Linked DNA regions of Homo sapiens: region 2 is linked to region 1. The links are contacts of gene promoters, found by promoter capture Hi-C in blood cells and fetal thymus (Javierre and others, 2016). All regions are on one chromosome and are shown on one strand. Each heading gives the region's core, a stretch centred on a gene start or on the middle of the fragment in contact. The rest is flanking DNA. Distances are from core to core; before and after follow the strand shown.

What was found. The method cuts DNA at HindIII sites, captures the fragments that hold promoters and counts their contacts. A CHiCAGO score of 5 or more calls a contact.
Region 2: the fragment with the promoter of ARPC1B here is called in contact with a fragment that was not itself captured in region 1 in 1 of 17 cell types (fetal thymus); the score reaches 6.3 in fetal thymus.

The regions. Positions count from the first base shown.
Region 1 is chr7:100,079,240-100,082,160 of GRCh38, forward strand. ZNF3 (zinc finger protein 3) reads right to left here and starts at 2,484. Exons shown (of 6, transcript NM_032924.5): 1 at 2,396-2,484; 2 at 297-417. RefSeq lists enhancers at 2,423-2,572, 2,729-2,921 and a silencer at 2,813-2,892. The HindIII fragment of the contact is 2,766 bases long and covers 289-2,921 here.
Region 2 is chr7:99,373,256-99,376,176 of GRCh38, forward strand. It overlaps ARPC1B (actin related protein 2/3 complex subunit 1B), which reads left to right and starts at 1,475. Exons shown (of 10, transcript NM_005720.4): 1 at 1,475-1,526. RefSeq lists an enhancer at 55-555 and silencers at 856-1,735, 1,746-2,385. The HindIII fragment of the contact is 2,162 bases long and covers 1-1,886 here.

The DNA.
Region 1 (2,921 bases), core at 422-2,921:
CAAACTCCTAGAAAGGCAGGTCAAAGGTCTGACTCCAGAGAAAAAGGCAACAGCTCCCTCTCACAGCTGGGTTAAGTGAAGCTGGAACTCAAAGGCATATTGTTGAGAACAAGCACCCAGTGTCCAGATCAGTAAACAGCGTTTCTCACAGAAAGAAAACTCTCCATTGTGCCCCCATGGCTTCAGGTCCAGACAGGGCCCTTCCCCTGCTCTGTTGCCAGCCTCACTCCCTGGTGCTGCCCGTGGGGACCGAGATAGATGGCCTGGCAGTAAGAACAAGACACGGAAAGCTTTACCTGCCTGATTCTTTCCTTCCTTCTTTGAAGTCAGTCCCTAGAAGGCCAAAGGAGCAATTACTGGGAATTTAGCAGCCTCTGTTCAAGTTCCCGGGAATTCTGACTTTTGTTGATGCCAATGCTGTGTGATTAAGGGGAAAAAAAGGAATTTAAAATATTCATGCAAACGTCTTTTTTTTTCCATGAGACAGGGTCTGACTCTGCTGCTCAGGCTGGAGTGCAGTGAGTTTGAGCTCACTCCAGACTCAAACTCCTAAGTTCAAGTGATCCTCCCAGCTCAGCCTCCCAAGGAGCTGGGACTAAAGGTGTGCACTGCCACATCTGGCTGAGTTTTTTAAAATTCTTTTTGTAGAAATGCAGCCTCACTGTGTTGCTCAGGCTGGTCTCAATCTCCTGGCCTCAAGTGATTCTCCCACCTCAGCCTCCCAAAGTGCTGGGATTACAGGCATGAGCCACCGAGTCCAGCCTAAACTTCATTTCTAATCAAGACATTTAAAGAAAAGGAAAAAAAAGAGAATACTTATTATATGCTAATAAATACCAATTAAGACCACCACCACAACTAGTATTTGCGTTGCACCCGTGGAGAGATGAAAGGGAATGGTAGGTTCTCAGGTCCACCTCCACCCAGGGTAAGAAAGTTCTAACGTTCTGTCAGCTAACTTGCTAGACACTGTGCTCCGAACTACTTCAGCAGGGGATCCACATTGCACAGCTGAGCCATTAGAAGTCTTCAGGTGATTCGCTGAAAATCTATCTCCTTGGACCTTCACCGCACAGAGACCTAGTGCATCACAGAAATTCAATGACTGGCGACCTGCAGTGGCTCACGCCTGTAACCCCAGCACTTTAGGAGGCTGAGGTGGGAGGATTACTTGAGCCCAGGAGTTCCAGGCTATGGTGAGCCATGATGGCACCACGGCACTCCAGCCGGGGGCAACAGAGCAAGACCTTAATACACACACAAACATTTTAAAAGGAAAAAAAAAAAAAAGGCCGGGCGCGGTGGCTAACGCCTGTAATCCCAACACTTTGGGAGGCCAAGGCAGGTGGATCACTTGAGGCCAGGAGTTGCAGACCAGCCTGGCCAAAAGGGCGGAACCCCGTCTCTACTAAAAATACAAAAAATTCGCCGGAGGTGGTGGCGGGCGCCTGTAGTCCCAACCACTCGGGAGGCTGAAGCAGGAGAAGCGCTTGAACCGGGAGGCGGAGGTTGCAGTGAGCCGAGATCGCGCCACTGCACTCCAGAGACAGTCTCAAAAATAAATAAAAATTAATTTTTTTAAAAAAAGAGCTTCAATAACAGAATCTTCTCCTTCCACCCGACTGTCCATCAAACACGTATAATCAAATGATGCCCACTCTCCACAGATGTCTTTTCTGGAGAAAATAATACGCTCGTTCCTCTAATTAGCCCATCGGTTTCAGGTTCATCACTCTGCTATCTTCTCCTGGAGTTTACAAAAGCCCTTCAGAGTGTAAACACCGATGTGGATTCAATCCCACTTCCGGAGAGAGGATCAAACCAGGAATCTAATACAACTGAAAACGGAGCCTGAGCCAGGTGTATCACGCGATGCACTGGGCTCCAGCAGGATTACCCCTGGAATCGGCGTCTGCACCCACTCCCAGCCCTCGTGCTAACTGCGTACGCTTAGCAGAATTTCTCTGATCCTTGGACCCAGCTGCGTAAAAATAAACTTCCTCTCCTGCCACGGGCGCGAATAACTGTGTTAACATCAAATAAAAACGTCTGGGAGAAATACCAAGTTAGGGTCGCTGTCATTAGCTGCTTTCAAGAGAGAGGCGCCCCTACCGCTCTGCTGAAACTTTTAAACGCTCCAGCTGGGTCGCCGTTAAAGTCACAAAACCAGAACCGGAGCCCCATTACTAACCCCTACGCAGGATCCCGCTAGGCTAGGGGGATCCCTGGGGAAGCGGAGTAGAGGACGGGCTGCAGGGGACGGAGGGGCGCCTCCCCGAACCCTGCTCCGGGCCGGCCGGGGGACCCTGCGGGCCGCAGTGGCACAGACACCACCCCCTTCCCCGGCGACCACAGCCTCCGTCTCACCGCGAGACCCGGGGACGCGTGGACTCACCCTGGGGGCAGGGACGACAGATTTGGGGGACCGGACACGGACCAGGCCCTGTTGGACCCTGTCACAGACCCACACACCGGGGACAGAACAAAGAACGGAAGTTCCCCCTCGTTTCGCTTCCGGGTCGGTTGTTCTTGCCACTCACCCGTACCCCCAACGCCCACTTGTTCTGTCTAGGAAAATGGGAGGTCCTCGCCTCTCTGTGGTTTGCTGACTCAGGGCGGCTGGCAGGCGGCGAGGGCAAGGAGCGCGATCGCTGACGCGGCACTCGGGGATCTTTCGCTGCGGGGGCTGGCCGGCTGCGCCCTCTGCTGGCCACGAATGTGCGAAAGCGGCCGACCACGGTCCTGGGCCTCAGGACATGTGCTCCAGCGTCGCCGGCCTTGGGGGCGGGCGGCGGGGGCGCGCGGGGATGTCGAGCCCGCGCTTCTCAGGCTGGCTCGCGAAGGGCAGCAGTAAACATACAATTATTGAAGGATTCATCAATATTAAAAAATGAACCCTGATTTAAAACTTGCCTCCGAAC
Region 2 (2,921 bases), core at 225-2,724, 710 kb before region 1:
TACTGCAGGACAAACCAATGTCGGCAGGTGAGGACAGGGTGGGAATAGTGTTCCAGGCAGAAGGAACAGCGAGTGTCAAAGCCTCTAAGCCTGACAGGGTGGGAGTCTGGCCTCGGATCTCCAGAGATCCAGGAAGACCCTGCACAAATACTAGAGAGAGGGGTCTGAAGGAGAGAAGAGGAGGGAAGGTTTTTGTTGTTGTTTGAGAGGAAGTCTCGCTCTGTTGCCAGGCTGGCGTGCAGGGGCCCCATCTTGGCTCACTGCAGCCTCTGCCCCCGGGGTTCAAGCAATTCTCGTGCCTCAGCCTCCCGAGTAGCTGGGATTACAGCAGCGCTCCATCACGCCATGGGGCTCCTTGCAGCTAATTTTTTTTTTTTTTGAAACAGAGTCTCACTCTGTCGCCCAGGCTGGAGTGTAATGGCGCGATCTCGGCTCACTGCAACCTCTGCCTCCTAGATTCAAGCGATTCTTCTACCTCAGCCTCCCGAGTAGCTGGGATTACAGGCATGCGCCACCACGCCTGGCTAATTTTTGTATTGTTTAGTAGAGACGAGGTTTCACCGTGATAGCCAGGATGGTCTCGATCTGAGCTCGTGATCCTCCCGCCTCGGCCTCCCAAAGTGCTGAGATTACAGGCGTGAGCCACCGCGACCGGCCGAGGTAAGGTTTTCACTGGGGTCTCTTCCATCTGCCTGGCCGCCAGGCCACGTATCCACTGAAGAGGCAGAGGGTCAGGATGGGAAGACTCCGGGGACCACCTAGCCCAAGACCCGCAATCAGGCGGCTCTGCAAGGCTAACCGGGTAACTTAAAGAAGTGAAGCCGATTGACGTAAAACAGAAAGGAAAGAAGTTAACTGGCCGGCCAGCGTCAGCAGGGGCGGCCAGTGTCACCCTGCCCGGGGACAGCACCCCTGTTTCGTGGCGAGGACACGGAGGGCCAAGGGGGCGGGGCCGGGCTGCCCTGGCCACGCCCGGACCGCCTGCTCCCCGCCCAGGGCCTGCACAGTTGGCGCCCACCGGCATCAGCGTGAAGGGAGCTCCTCGCTGGCTGCCGACGGGGCTGCAGGGCTCGCTAGCCGCTCACCTGCGTGTGAGCGCGGAGCCCGCAGTACCCGCCGTCCGGGCTCAGAGGACGTGACTCCCCGACCCTGCGCCCGGCAGTCCCCGGGGGCCGTGCGCCCGGCCCAGGCTCGGAGGTCCAGCCCAGCGGCGGCTCAGGCTGCGCGCCTGGCTCCCAGCCTCAGTTTCCCCATTGGTAAAGCATTGACGGTGGTTGCGGACGGCTTCTGCGGACAGAGCCTTGGGCTCCGACGTCTGCGCGGGTACCGGCAGCACCCCCACCCCGAAGGGAGGGCGGGACCTGGATCTCGCGACCGCTGCCCCAGGTCCCCGCCCCCGGGCCCTACCGGGCTGAGGTCGGCAGGCCCCGCCCCCCGCCCACGAGGAAGTGGCTGCTGCTCCGGCGCGGAGCCCAGAGCCGGTTCGGCGCGTCGACTGCCCAGAGTCCGCGGCCGGGGCGCGGGAGGTGAGGGCCGTGGGGGCGCCCGGAGGTGGGGGTCAGGGGAGCCACCTGGAGGTGGGGGGGCGCGTAGATGTGGGGCGCCGCCTGGGAGTGAGCGGGACTGGAGGGATGAGAGGGGGTGCAAGGAGGGGACCGGGGGGCGCCTGGAAGTGAGGACGCATAGATGTGGGGCGCCGCCCAATAGGGGCACGGGGATGAGTGGGGGCACATGGAGAGGAGGGGGCGCGGGGACGAGGGGCTCACGGAAAGGAGAGGGAGCCCTGGGATTGGAGGGGGCGCGGGGGTGGCCGCAGGGCCAGACTGTGGAAACGCGGGCTCCCAGCGCACCGGGCGCCCTCGGGGCGTCCCCAGCCCCCGGCCCCAAGCTTCCGCCTCGTGCCTTCCGCCCCTGCTCCCCGGCCCCCATCCCCAGCCTTGCCCCGCGGTCGGTCGGTGTAGCCCCGTTACTTCGGGCCGGCGGGGCCCCACACCCAGTCACTTCCCCTCCATCCCCGGAGCCTTCCGGGTTGCAGCCGCCGGGAAATGAGCTGGCGTCTCCTGCCGCCCCGCCCCTGCCCTCCTGGCCGCTCCCGCTGCTCCCACCCGCCTCCCCCGGGCCAGGTCCGAGGGGTCCCGTACGGGGCGGGCCTGGCTGGCGGGGTCCCGGAACGCACCCCCTCAGCTGCAGGGCTCCGCGGCCAGGGCAGATCCGAGCAGCCCCTCCCTTTCCGGAGGCGCTGGGAGAGCAGCCAGGCCGCCTAGGGCGGGGCGGGGCCGGGCTGCACCCGCGGGCAGTGAAGGGATCAGGAGTGCAAGCCTGGGGAGTCAGACCTCCCCCTGCCTCCTCTGCCAATGCAGCCCGGAGGCTACCACCACCCATCCCGGCCGGGCGCGGTGGCTCACACATAGAATCCTAGCATTTTGAGAGGCCCAGGCGGGAGGATCGCTTGAGGCCAGGAGTTGGAGGCCAGCATGGACAGCATTGCGAGACCCTTTCTCTATTAAAATAAATAAATAAAATGTAGCCAGGCGCTGTGGCTCATGCCTGTAATCCCAACACTTTGGGAGTCGAGGTGGACGGATCACTTGAGGTCAGGAGTTCGAGACTAGCCTGACCGACATGGTGAAACCCTGTCTCTACTAAAAATACAAAAATTACCCAGGCATGGTGGCACGCACCTGTAATCCCAGCTACTCAGGAGGCTGAGGCAGGAGAATTGCTTGAACCCGGGAGGCAGAGGTTGCAGTGAGCCGAGATCACGCCATTGCACTCCAGCCTGGGCAACAGAGCAAGACTCCGTCTCAAAAAAAAAAAAAAAAGCCACGTAACATGCCTGTAATCCCAGCTACTTAGGAGGATGAGGCAAGAGAATTGCTTGAACCTGCCTTGGCAGTGAGCCAAGACTGTACCACTGCACT